Regions from separate parts of the Homo sapiens genome. Here regions 1, 2, 4 and 5 are each linked to region 3. The links are contacts of gene promoters, found by promoter capture Hi-C in blood cells and fetal thymus (Javierre and others, 2016). All regions are on one chromosome and are shown on one strand. The core of a region is centred on a gene start or on the middle of the fragment in contact, and the rest is flanking DNA. Distances in the headings are between cores, read along the strand shown.

What was found. Contacts are between HindIII fragments. The CHiCAGO score rates a contact against its expected background, and 5 or more counts as called.
Region 1: a contact is called between a fragment that was not itself captured here and the fragment with the promoter of KCNT2 in region 3, in 1 of 17 cell types (M1 macrophages). The highest score is 5.4, in M1 macrophages.
Region 2: a contact is called between a fragment that was not itself captured here and the fragment with the promoter of KCNT2 in region 3, in 1 of 17 cell types (megakaryocytes). The highest score is 5.0, in megakaryocytes.
Region 4: a fragment that was not itself captured here is called in contact with the fragment with the promoter of KCNT2 in region 3 in 1 of 17 cell types (megakaryocytes); the score reaches 5.2 in megakaryocytes.
Region 5: a fragment that was not itself captured here is called in contact with the fragment with the promoter of KCNT2 in region 3 in 2 of 17 cell types (fetal thymus and erythroblasts); the score reaches 5.6 in fetal thymus.

Annotation. Positions count from the first base shown.
Region 1 is chr1:196,131,140-196,133,839 of GRCh38, forward strand. No RefSeq gene overlaps it. Among named protein-coding and RNA genes, the nearest start is that of LINC01724, 44 kb to the left of the region's middle. The HindIII fragment of the contact is 555 bases long and covers 1,074-1,628 here.
Region 2 is chr1:196,336,720-196,339,419 of GRCh38, forward strand. The region is part of intron 16 of KCNT2 (potassium sodium-activated channel subfamily T member 2); the gene reads right to left. Among named protein-coding and RNA genes, the nearest start is that of MIR4735, 240 kb to the right of the region's middle. The HindIII fragment of the contact is 4,991 bases long and covers 1-2,700 here.
Region 3 is chr1:196,607,186-196,609,885 of GRCh38, forward strand. KCNT2 (potassium sodium-activated channel subfamily T member 2) reads right to left here and starts at 1,255. Exons shown (of 28, transcript NM_198503.5): 1 at 1,030-1,255. The coding sequence starts at 1,124. RefSeq lists an enhancer at 1,590-2,106. The HindIII fragment of the contact is 4,315 bases long and covers 1-2,452 here.
Region 4 is chr1:196,313,202-196,315,901 of GRCh38, forward strand. KCNT2 (potassium sodium-activated channel subfamily T member 2) reads right to left here. Exons shown (of 28, transcript NM_198503.5): 21 at 2,691-2,700. Among named protein-coding and RNA genes, the nearest start is that of LINC01724, 230 kb to the left of the region's middle. The HindIII fragment of the contact is 3,629 bases long and covers 1-2,700 here.
Region 5 is chr1:196,155,761-196,158,460 of GRCh38, forward strand. No RefSeq gene overlaps it. Among named protein-coding and RNA genes, the nearest start is that of LINC01724, 68 kb to the left of the region's middle. The HindIII fragment of the contact is 4,007 bases long and covers 1-2,700 here.

The DNA of each region.
Region 1 (2,700 bases), core at 101-2,600, 480 kb before region 3:
TGGCAAATTATCTTGTAGGATAATTTGCAATTACTTGGTAAGCATTTGCAATTTGGGCAGGTACATGAGCGAATCAGTAATCAAGTGTCTTTGTCTGATAAACAAAATAATGACCTCCAGAGACACCTAAGTCCTAATTCCCAGAACCAGTGATTATGTTACCTTCCATGGCAAAAGGGACTTTACAGATTTAATTAAAATAGGGTTCTTGAGATAGTGAGATTATCTTGGATTGTATGGGTGGGTTCAATGTAACCATAAGCTTTATAGGAGGGATACAAAATGAGATGGGAGAATGGAAGCAGAAGTTGGAGTGATTTCCTCTGGAGGAAAAGACCATGAGCCAAGAGATGTGTGGGGCTTCACGAAACTAGGAAAGTCAAAGAAAAAGATTCTCCTTTGGAGCCTTGAGAAGGGACATAGCTTTGTTGACATGTTGATTTTTAACCTCTTCAGACGCATTTCAAATTTCTGGCTTTCAGAACTGTAAGATAACAAGTTGATGTTGTTTGAAGCCACAAAACTTGTGGCAATTTGTTGCAGCACCAGGAGGAAACTAACGCACACAGTAATTAAATGGATTATTATCTTGGATTATAAATAATACATTCCTTACCTCTATGTAGAAGCTGAAACTATCCCCAGCAGACATCATTGACATGAGGGTGGGTTATCTGTCTCACTCTCACATAAACATTAACATAACTTTCCTCTGCCTTTTATTATGCCATCATTTGATTGTCAAGAAAGAAAATTAAATGAATTTCATTATAATGACAGATAAGTGTGACATGGTTATATCTTCATGCCAGATGTGGTTATAAGATGATGACAAAAGCCCCAGTACTATGGACATGTTTCATTTTAGCTGTAGATAACATTGGATGCACCTCCATTCTTATAAACATTATAGCAATTCTTTATATGATTTAGTCTTGGAAACTGTTTAGCAAATGACATGCAGGTAGATTCAAAATTGAGAAAATATTGGCAACCATCTGATAACTTTTTGCACAGTCAGTTGTGAAAGTGACTTACAGTGACAAAATATATTACACATACTAAAATATTTAAGCTTTCTGGACATATCATGAATTGTAAGGCAATGGGTATTTTATTTTTGATGCAGCTAAATGTATCTGCAGCTTGATGGCTCTCATAAGTAATAATCTGAATTGCCTATCAGAGGAAAGTGCTGGAGTTATTTACAAAGGAAAAACCAACCCAATAACCCAAGGTGTCACCATTTTATGCAGAAATAAAGTGAATCTGGCAGCAAGAATAATGAAATGAGATAAGCTACACACTTGAAATCTTATATTCCACATTTAAAAAACTTTATAAAAACTCTTTCTGTGGATATATAGGTTTACTGAAATGGAATTTATATAAATTGTGTAGATGATAAGCCAAAGAGCTGACTCTGAAGTCCTTGTTACATCTCCAATCATGGCTCCCCAAATTGTCTGTATGACTCTCATGTCTTCCAGTATAGGTGCTTCAGGCTAACTACCCCTGAGTTTTTCCTTTCCCTCAATTCCTCCAAAATACAACTGATTTTTTCTCCATAGAATGCCTGTCAGGGGTGCTTAAGTGAACCACCCATCCCAAAAGATGCTCTCCATGTAAGCTTTAATTTTATTCAGTAGATGTCATCATTTTTGTTGTAGTTACTGTTATGCTAATACAATAAAAATCTGTTTTCCTCACATTTGACCTATGGCTTCTGTCCGTTTTCAAGTTCCCCACATAAGGCTTTATTTAAGTCCTTTCTTTGTACTATATTTACAAGTAATCTTCATTTTCCCATAAGTCCTAATTATTGCTGTATTGAGAAATTATTGCTTAAGGGGAAAGCATAGATGTTCTGGAAAGAACATAGCCATGGGAGACAATCTCTGCTATTATTTGGTTGTGCATGTCAAGACAAGTTACTTGCCACGTTGAACTTCATATTCCTTCTGTATCAAAGTGGGTTTCAACAATTTCTGTCAGGATAAAGGACAATTCGGTGTTTACAGGAAGTAAATTAGACAAAATATGGGAAAGCATCTAATAAATAAATGTCGCATTTCTAATATTGGTATCATGAACACAGAGCAAGCCCTAGCCAAAATACTAAAGAAAATTATATTTATTTTTGGTAACATCCTATCCAGCAACGGCAGCAACAGCACCTACAAGCATCCATCCCAACCATGTGATTCCCTTAGCCTTGTGATTCTCAAAGTGTTCTTTGGGATCCCTGGAAGTCCTTTGCAGAGGGTCTATGAGGTCAAAAACATTTTCAAAATAATAGTAAAACAATATTTGCTTTTTTCACTCTCGTTCTTCACAAGTGTACAGCGTAATTTCCCAGAAGGTACATGATGCCTTTATTGCAACAGAGTAAAAGAAGAAGAAAATATGAAATTGTAGCTGTCTCCTATTAAGCCAATCTTTAAGAAATTTACAAAATTGTAAAACAGTGCCACTCTTCATCTTATGGTTTTTGAAAAATATAGTTATTTGTCATATAAATATGTTACTCATGTTAAAATGTAATGAGTGTATTATGGTTACTTTTAAATAAGTTATTTAATAATATTTTATATTTTTCATTTTTAATTTCTAATACACTAATTGAGATCATTCAAAAACACATAACTTTGAAGGGCCTTCAATAATTTTACTAGTGTAAAGGGGGCCTGAGATAAAAAG
Region 2 (2,700 bases), core at 173-2,672, 270 kb before region 3:
AAAGTCAATTGACACTTCTCAGTCCTTATGTTACGACCTATCAGTACTTGGCTTTCAGCCATGACCTATCAGACATGGCTTTACATGGTGTTGTCTTAATGCACTTAGCTCACTTGGATTCCAGGACACCTCACTCATTGGGTTTTCCTACTAGCCTGCCAGTAGCTCCTCTTTGGTCTCCTTTGCTGGTTTCTTCTCATCCCCCTGATACTTAATCTTAGTATACTGCAGAGCTTTGTCTTTTATTTTTTCCTGCCTGTACTCATTTCCTCAAAGACTTCATTTGGTCTTATGGCTTTAAATATATACATAAGATCAGAAATACAAAATTTACTTTTTCAGCCTATCTCTCTCTCTCTCCTGAAATCTAGACTCTTACATACAACTTCCTGTTAGACATCTTCAAGGTGTTCCAAAATACTCTTTATCTTCCCTTCACCCCCGCAAAACCTGCATTCCCCCTAGCCTTTCCTCTAAATTTATGGCCATTCTCTTTCCCTAGTTGCTTAATCCGAAAACCTTATGTTTCTTCACACTTCTCTTTTTCTCACAGTTCAATTTCATTTTGTAAGGAATCCTGATTATCCTCAAAGTACATGCAGAATTTTCTCCTTCTTACCACTTCCACTTGAAAATAGTCTGATCCTTGCTCCAAACCATCTATGTTCAACAGCAGCCTGAGTTGAGCACTCAGCATAGGTGAGATCAGGTCAATGGCTCTGCATAAAGCCTTGCAATAATTCCCACTTCACTGAGAGTAGAAGCTGCAATCCCATATGGACTTAAATAAGCCCAACAGGATCTGGCCTCTTTCTACCTGTTCGTCCTCATCTCCTACTATTCTTCCAGCATTCACTGTGTTTGAGGCACAAAGGGCCCTGTTACTGTTCCTGGAGAACCCCAGCCAGGCTCCCACTTTAGGGCCTTTGTACCAGCTGTTATCTCTTTCTCCAGACCTCCACAGGACTAATTCCTCATTTCTTTCAGGTATCTGCTCAAACATCACTTTCTGGCCTACTAAGCACTTCATTTAAAATCTGCTCCTCCCAAAAATTAATTATCTCCTATACTAGCTCTGTTTTCTTCTTTTAGTTTTTCCTTTATAACTTATAACCCACTAGCATATTAAGTAATTTACTTATTTTTTTATATGTACTTTGGTTATCGCCTGTCTTCTCCATAATAGAATGCAAGCTCTATGAACTAGGGATCTTTGTTTCTTCACTAACGTTTTATCACAAACACTTACACGAGAGTTCTTGGTACATATTAGGTACTCAATAAATACTATTTTGGGTACATATTAGGCACACAATAAGTACTTTTTGAAGACATTAAAAATGAATATTGCTACTGTAGAATAAAAATAAGTAAATGACAAATAGGATTACCTAAGAAGGTCTAGGTAAAACCATGGAATAGTGTTTGGAGGGAGTGATATTTTGACTAAGATATAAAGAATTAGAAGTCATTACTTAGGGAATGTTGGGGTGTGAGGAATAGTTCCATCAGAGGAAACTTAATGTTTTAAGGCCCATTGGTGAAAAAAATATATTAGTGAAGATTGAAAGAAAGTGAGTATGTTTGGAGCTCAGGAGAGCAGCAAAGAGGTGGTAAAATGTGGAGCTAGAAAAGTCAGAAAATATCACTAATAAAAAGCCTATAAAGAAAATGATGAAGTAATTTATTTTCTAAACTAGGATACTGCAGAGTAAAAGGGGGTTCTTTTAATAATTACATCAGGACAATTATATAAACTGAACAATCCTAAGAAACTGGAACATTCCTAAGAAAACTAGGATTGCCTAATGCAAACAAGAACTTTTGGTTATCCTATTTATAAGTTAAGTCACACTACAGAATTTAGACTTTTTTTTCCAATGGGTAGTATAAAGCAGGTGATTTGTTCAGGAAATGATGCTATCAAAATTATATTTAAAAATTTTTACTCTGGTGGCAGGATGGAGAATTAAGTGTAGAGTGGCAAGGCTGGAGGCATGGAAAAAAGACAAGGTTGTTGATCCTGCAGTTCAGGGAGAGAAGGATGGAGGCACAGACCACGATGATGTTGGTGGTGGACATGGAAAAAAACTGAATGATTCTAGGGGCTATTTACTGACCAGATTTAATAGAATTTGGTTAATGATGAGGTATGAGAAGAGCGGGTGGTGAAAAGTCAGAATGGTGGCCTTACAGATCAAAGGATAATGGTGTCATCTGCTTTTTAGCAAAAAAAAAAAAAAAAAAAAAAAAAAGGAGAAGGAGAAAAACGGTGTTGAATGACTGAATGAGAGTGTAAGGATCAGTTTAATTTGAATATGCTGTGCCAGTTTTTCCCACAAAATACTCAAACAGAAATAACTAGTAGACAGTTCGCGTTGCTGTAAAGAGATGTTGAGTTAATGCTTTAGACAGAGGAATAATCAGTTTACGGACAATAGAATCCATGAGAACAGAAGTGACCACACAATGAAAATGAATGTGCACAAAGCAGAAAAAAAGGCATTAGAGTGTTTCAGGAAGAACATGGTCAATATTCTTGTCATATACTGTGAAGACAATCATTTTAGATGTAGTGACAAAGAGGAACATGGTGACCTTGCCTGAATAGTTTCAGTGATATGACTGCAGGTGTCAGATTGAACTGGGTAGAATCATGGACATAGGACAACAATAAAATTTAAAGCCTGCCACTAAACA
Region 3 (2,700 bases), core at 5-2,504:
TTTGGATTGGACCAATAATGGATCTTTTATATAACTAAAATAGCACATCAATACTAAACTAAACTTCAATGAAACATTTCAATTGAGTTGAGAACCTAGTTAGTATACATGTATTATTTTAAAACAAAGAAATGTGGCATGTGATATATGGGATGACTATTCCAGAAAATACTAAATTCGCTGAAATACAAAATGTGCTTGAGACAGAAATAGACAGAGGAATTTCAGAAGTTTGTGCAAAGCAGTAATGCTATAAATAAAACACATGAACAATATTTTGCTAACAATAAATATTCTAGTTTTGAAACTTAATTTTAATTTTGAGACATATATTCTGTTTCAGTTAAAAAAATATACTAGTTATGAAAAGGTTGTATCATGTTATACAAACATCATTATTCATAATGGTCAGAGTCACCTGTTCAAAGTGAGTATATTGTATTAAAAAGGTTGTCATTTTCACTAACTACCTGTTACATATTTAAACCAATTGTCTACTTAAAACTCCAAAATGTTTAAACAGCATAAAATTTCCAGTGCCAAGTAGATACCTACTCAAGACAACACAGACAAGGAGGAGGTAAATAGACTCAGGAGATTTTAAGTTTCTAATGTGCTTTTTCAAACAACTTGCATGCAATTTTGAGTTTGATTAACCACACCTAAGGAAAAAATGCAAATTTTCTGGAAATGATATTGCATACCATTTGGGTGTATTGTACCTCTGATACCAGCCTTATACACATCCTAGAAAAGCACAGATAGACAAAAGAATAAGCACCAAATGAATGCAATAAATACCTTGCAAGAATAAGAAAAGTGTAAAGAAAAAGAGTTCCTTATCTATAGCAACAGTTATATAGAGTCAAAATGGAGAGACAAATCAGAGTCTCTTTTACTCCCTCCCCCAGCCTAGTCTCCCTCTCTGGCTCCGTTTTCCTTTTCTCCCTCCTTTCCCCACTTCGGCCCTCCCATTTCCGTCTCTTTTTCAGCAATATTTACAGAACAATCCTCCACCACACCACTCACCTGTCGTCGTTTTGCCATCCTTGGTCCCCTAGCAGCAAATCTCGAAACCTGTACCTGGGAGGCAGAGGGGGCACTTCGCTCTCCAAATCAACCATCCTTCCTCAAAGAGTGGGAAACATCAAACAACAAATGGAGGAGAGGAGGGAGAAAGAAAGAAAATATTGCGGAGTACAGGGAGAGGACTAACAAGACGCTGTGGCCGAGAGAGGGATGGGAGAAGGGGAAGGGGACAGGGAGGGGGAGGGGGTCCGCTTGGAGCCGGAAGCTAAGGCTTGAAAGGGGGCTGGCTCCTCTTTCCCGAGGGTGTAATGGGGATGATGCAAACCCAACCCAGGAGCAAAAGTCTGGCTCTGACAAGAATCAACGCTGCCAAGGAACCGCCCCCAGGCTCGGCACCGCCTCTGGTCCCCAGGACTAGGGGGAGGCGGGTATAAAAAGTTACTTCGCCGAAAAAGACGCGCGGTGCCTAGAAAGAGGGGAGAGGGGTGGGAGTGAGCGCCGCTTGATGGTGAAGCACTTTCCTTAAAGGCAGTTGCCAGATCCTCCCAGAGGGCAGCCTCCCGGCTACTGTTCCCTCGGGCGGGCTTGCATCCGGCACAGCCCTGAGCTGGCGGGAATCGGGGGCGGTGGGTTTCGGCCCCAGACGCGGCCAACCCGGCTCTCCCCGCAATCTCCCTGTGGAGATGGAGCTGGAGGCCCAGCCAATGAGACTCCCCCTCATTAGCATAGCACAGTGACGGCACGGGGGTGCCTTGGGGACAACCAATGGGGGCGAGCTAATTAGCGGATTGCGGGGCTCCAGACCCTTCTCTGGGAGGAGGGGGGCCAGGGTGCTTGGAGTGTTCCACTATGCCACGAGCTCCCTCGCTTTGATTGCCTTCAGTCCAGGTGGGCGGGATGAAAAAATTGCACGTTTCTGGAAAGGGAATCCCCACTCTCAGCCCCAGGAAAATCCCATTTTTTTCTCACATTCTGAAAGAAGGGAGGTGTTTCCCTGAACTCGGGGAAAAAGAAGGGCCACCTTAGGCCGCTGAAGAGAAGCATTTAGATGACAGGGAAAGCACATGGAAACGCACTGAGGATTTTACAGTGGTGAGTTGCTGTTACTGCTGTCGCTGCTACTAGCAGCGTTGTGGGCTTCCAGGTGGCCTGGCCTCAGCCTTCGGTCCCCTCCTATTAGTGGTTCACACGGAGGAAGAAGTGAGCCCGAGAGAACAGGGTCTGTTTTTCAGTAAGAACCACTGCTTACATGAACCCTGCTACACAAGCTATGGTTCTATTTGCGCTTACCGTTCTTTCCTTCAAAAACTGATTGCATCAGAGTATATACAGACCGAATACCAACCACCTGACAGCCTGGGCCGGAGGATAACCATATGGCTTCTCCTGCCCTTACTTAAGAACCGCTCTGTGTGGAGGAACAAGCTTGTTCCTTGATAAATGGATACGATGTGAGAGACAATAATCAAAGAACATACAGAGGGATTTGGAAATACCTGTGAGGTACACATACTTCTTCGAGGTGGGGGTCAAGGAAGACATTGAAAATGAACCAAGCCTTCTATATTCGTTCGCAGCCTACTTTAGGGAAAAGAGCAAAGGTGAAGCAAGCAGAGAGAATAGTATGAGTAGAGGCATAGGGATTTTTTAGAATATTTGGCTTATCCAGAA
Region 4 (2,700 bases), core at 201-2,700, 290 kb before region 3:
GTTCCAGTGTGGTCAAAGGACTATTAAGAGTTGAGAATATTAGAAGAAATTAGATAGAAAATGAGTAGCACTACTCAGAGTGTTGAATGCTAGAAACTGAGAATGTGGAGTGTAAAATTATTCATAGTTCAAGGTTTAGGCTATGACCATGAGAATGGGTGGTGAAGGTCAGATATTCAAAGGATCATCTAGGTAAGATTGTTGAAATCATCAATAATTATGATAATCAGGGTTGGCAAGAGTCATAGTAAATCAGGAACTAAAATCTCCAAGGAATGCAGAAGAGTGATCTGGAGGATGATAATTAACCACATCTGTAAAATGCAACTCCCAAGTCTGTGTGATTTTGGTCATTTATGAGCAAAAGTGATTCTTCTTATATCATAGAAACCTATAAATGTCTGTCTTACTTTTTATCATGTAAAACTAGCCTAGCTTAGCATACACAGATTAGCAGCTTAACACACAACACAAAAAAAAAGTTTCATATAATTTTTTCCTAAAAAATACTGTTATATACTTAGAGAAATAATAGTAATGTCATGATAGGGCATAAGAAAGGAAAGAACAGAGGTAATTTCTTTGCAATTTGGGTTTTTAATAGTTCTTTTGAAAAATTCTGCTCAAAACTATTCAGTCTAGATTACTATATATATACCATAAAAACTATATAATTTTTAAAATATACTGCTGAAGACAGATAAGCCTAATAGTTAAGGTATCCAAAGTTATTAATTCATTCATTCATCCATCCATTCATTCATTCAACAAGTGGTAATCACATCTTCAGCTAGGTACTCAGAGTAACATAGCCTTTGCACAATTAGTTGCCATATATGTATCTGTCCATGATTACTATGGTGAGTTAATTTGTTTTAAATTACTAATTACAGCCTTTGAACCTCTCAGTAAGATGGGGATTTATTATTTCCTTGGAATCAAAATAATTCATCCAGAGAATATATAATAAAAGTTAAATCAATAGAAATGTCACCATAATAGAAATAAAATTCATGGTAAATTGAAAGTTTAAATAACATGTTTAATTAAAAAGACCTAGGATCCTCTTTTATATAATTAGCTTTTGCCAAGCATGGAATCAAAAAGCATGATTTTTACCCTACTCACTAGCTATAAATCTCATCCTTGAATTAATTTTCTACCCTGTAATTTTCTTTTATATTCTCTAGAGAAAAAAAATTTATATATCTGTAATATTTTAAACAAGTTCTATATAGTGTCTTTTAAAAATGTACTGTTTAATACAGCTCACTAGTTAACTAGTTAGCTATATTCTAAGTGAACTGCTGCATTATAATAACTTTAAAGTGTGTATTTCTTCTTCTGGAACAAGAGGTTCTTATGCAAATTCAGTGTAGATTTTCCAGGTGCTATGACAGATTCTTTAAATAACTGATCTCTAATCTTTACATTAACACTGCAAGGTCGGTTATTTTCTGCAGCATTTTATAGATGAGAAAAACTGAATCTTAATGAGGTTAGGAAGGTCACAAAGTTAGTGACTGTCAGCTGGAGCCTCTAGGATATACATTGTGCCAGATAAAGTTTGCTGCTGTATAGTCCAAGGTCAGTGGCTTTTCCCTTCTGCCACATGGAAGTGATAATTATACTGCTAGTAATATTAATAGCTAATATTTATTAAGTAATTAAAAATGACCAGGTATGTGCTAAGTAAGGCATTGCATGTTTCTAAATCTTTAATAATATTGTGATTAATATATTGAGATGTAGAGAAGAAAAGTAATTTGCCTAAGATCATACTAAAAATAGGCAACTTAACACAGACACGCATCTAGGCTCTCTCCTTTGAATTTTGAACTCAAATTAGAAGGCAAAATAATTAACCTCAATATATGCTTTACTACAATATGAAAGTATGAAAGTGGAGTGAACATGGATGATGAGAAAGTTGAGATTGTTTCATTTACCTCTGTAATTTGGTAGCTCACGTATTTTCTTCAGGCTTCTGCAAAACTCATACAACTTAAAAAATGGTCTTTTGGATATTTAAAATTTCATATGATTTTAGGGAGAATTGTTCCAAGTGAAACAGATGCCTTGAATGACAGACGAGTTTGACTTTACTTATAGCATGGCTCTTTCTCTAGTCAGGATTGTTTACTCTTACCCAAAGACAACCATAATGGGGATTCATATCCCCATTAAATTAAATTCAATTAATTAAATTCAATGGGTACATTTAATTAATAAAAGACAGGAAAACAGTGAAAATGATGTCATGACTTTGCTCCTAACATGGGTAACTTACCTGTTCACAGCTGTGCAGTCTTTCAGTCCTAGCTATTCAGTATGTAAATGCAAATATTTGGTCACTGCTAGGCTTAATACCAATACGAGAACATGGGCTGCTTGTCAAAACTCATGACTACTAGTACACATGATTTTCAAGAATTTGCTACTGTTAAACTATCTGAGAAAATAGATATATCATTCAATTTGTTTTATGAGAAGCATTACTGATCTGGTGTTAAAAATTTAACTTTATGCAGTGCCAGTCATGCTCAATAAACATTTACTTTATGAAAAAAATGAATAAATGAACATAAAGTTGGTGTGTCTCATGTTCATTCCTCACAGAGTCAGTGTCAAATATTTTACCAATGTTTAGCACAAAGTAAGTGGCAAGGTTGGATGATTCAGCCACTTACCTGAAGAGTG
Region 5 (2,700 bases), core at 72-2,571, 450 kb before region 3:
CAGACCGCCCTGAAGAACTGCAGGCCTTCCTACTAAGACAGAGCTTTCATTGATAAACTTAAGGCACAAAAGTACACTGGGGCACATGTTCTCTACAGGATTACAGGTCTCAAATGAAGAGGAGAAGGGCAGGGCTGAGATTTAAACATCTTCTTAGTTCCTGCTCCTAAATGTTTCATTCTGAGAGGCCAAGAATATTGCTCTAATAACTGTCTACCAGTTGGGAAGAATCAGGAGTAAGGAGTAGGTGTTCTAACATGTAACTACAATAAATCTTTAACTATAATCATAGATACAAACATGTAGATCCTAAAAGTACAAATCAAAATTTTAATTATAGTGTCATATAAAACAGAGGATCTAAATATTCCTCCTATATTCCACTTCATGGTACATTATATAGTATCTTAGAAATCATGAGGAATATAGGAAGGTGGGTTTAGAGTTCAGAGGCAATAACTTAAAAACTGATCATATGAAAATAGTTACATTTTGATGTATATAAATAATGAGATATTATGCAGCTCTGGAAATTATGTTTTGAAAAATTCTTAACAGCTTTGGTAGCTATCGCAGTATAATACTAAGTTTAAAAACTAAGACACAAAAGTGCTTATGCAGTGTAGTGTAATATTTAAAATACATACTACATTGAGATAGCCCTAAAAAGAAAAACACAAATGTATTAATAACAAATGTTTGGGTACTGGTATTGTGAATTATAATGCTCTCCTATAGTTTTATTTATATTCTAAAATTTCTAGAAGCATGTGTATGATTAATTGATAACAGCACAGCTTATTTAGATATGTTGTGTGCATTTACCTTATTCAAATGAAAACACTGTTGAAAATAAGCCTTACTGATGAAACATGCTCAGTTTCTTTTTTTTTAACATTTCCTCTTTGTGATTGTTAAAAGGAAAACTTCAGCTGAATTAAATTTAAAGGAGTTTAACTGAGCAATGAACAATTCATGAATCCAGCAGCCCCATAATCACAGCAGATTCAGAGAGACTCCAGGGGTGCCTCGTGGTCAGAACAAATTTATAGACTGAAAAAGTAAAGTGACATACAGAAACTGGAAGTGAGGTACAGAAACAGTTGGATTGATAACAGCTCGGAGTTTGCCTTATTTGAACATAGTTTGAACACTCAGCAGTGTATGACTGGTTGAAGTATGGTTGCTGAGATTGGCCAAGACTCAGCAATTGTTGCAGGCACATACTTCTAAGTTAGGTTTTCAATCTTGTCTACCTATTAAGTTAGGTTTCAGTTCATCCACAAGAACTCAAATATAGAAGTACGGCCATATTTAGTTTTTGTTAACATTTCCCCACTTTTGGTCATTTTCTTAATTTTGAGAGATTGACCAAAACTTTGGACATTGATGTCACTATCACCTTTGTAAATGTACATATTTGGTCTTGAAACCCACTGAAAAACAAAACAGTGGGTACTGCAAAGGTAGAAACAAGGAATAAGTAGAGGGTACCTCCTTGTGCTGGAATGTTCTGTTTACAGGAGAAAACAAAACCAAGTCTGTTCTAATCTAAAATCTACGTGTTTCTTTAAAGTCTTAGTTTGATTGTGAAAATTTCAAACTAAGACTTTAAAGAAACACCTACTCATCTGACAAAGGGCCAATATCCAGAATCTACAATGAACTCAAACAAATTTACAAGAAAAAAACAAACAACCCCATCAAAAAGTGGGCAAAGGATATGAACAGACACTTCTCAAAAGAAGACATTTATGCAGCCAAAAGACACATAAAAATGCTCATCATCACTGGCCATCAGAGAAATGCAAATCAAAACCACAATGAGATACCATCTCACACCAATTAGAATGGCAATCATTAAAAAGTCAGGAAACAACAGGTGCTAGAGAGGATGTGGAGAAATAGGAACACTTTTACACTGTTGGTGGGACTGTAAACTAGTTCAACCATTGTGGAAGTCAGTGCGGCGATTCCTCAGGGATCTAGAACTAGAAATACCATTTGACCCAGTCATCCCATTACTGGGTATATACCCAAAGGACTATAAATCATGCTGCTATAAAGACACATGCACACGTATGTTTATTGTGGCATTATCCACAATAGCAAAGACTTGGAACCAACCCAAATGTCCAACAATGATAGACTGGATTAAGAAAATGTGGAACATATACACCATGGAATACTATGCAGCCATAAAAAAGGATGAGTTCATGTCCTTTGTAGGGACATATATGAAATTGGAAATCATCATTCTCAGTAAACTATCGCAAGGACAAAAAACCAAACACCGCATGTTCTCACTCATAGATGGGAAGTGAACAATGAGAACACATGGACACAGGAAGGGGAATATCACACTCTGGGGACTGTTTTGGGATGGGGGGAGTGGGGAGGGATAGCATTAGGAGATATACCTAATGCTAAATGACGAGTTAATGGGTGCAGCACGCCAGCATGGCACATGTATACATATGTAACTAACCTGCGCATTGTGCACAAGTACCCTAAAACTTAAAGTATAATAATAAAAATAAATAAATAAATAAAATAAAATAAAATAAATGAAGTCTTAGTTTGATTATGTCACATTTAGCCTGAACAACTCCATTTTTGTTTTGTTTGGTTTGGTTTGTTGGGGCCTAGTGCGTGAGCTCAGTCCAAAACAATGGCCTCTAATAATTTCGTTTTAAAAAT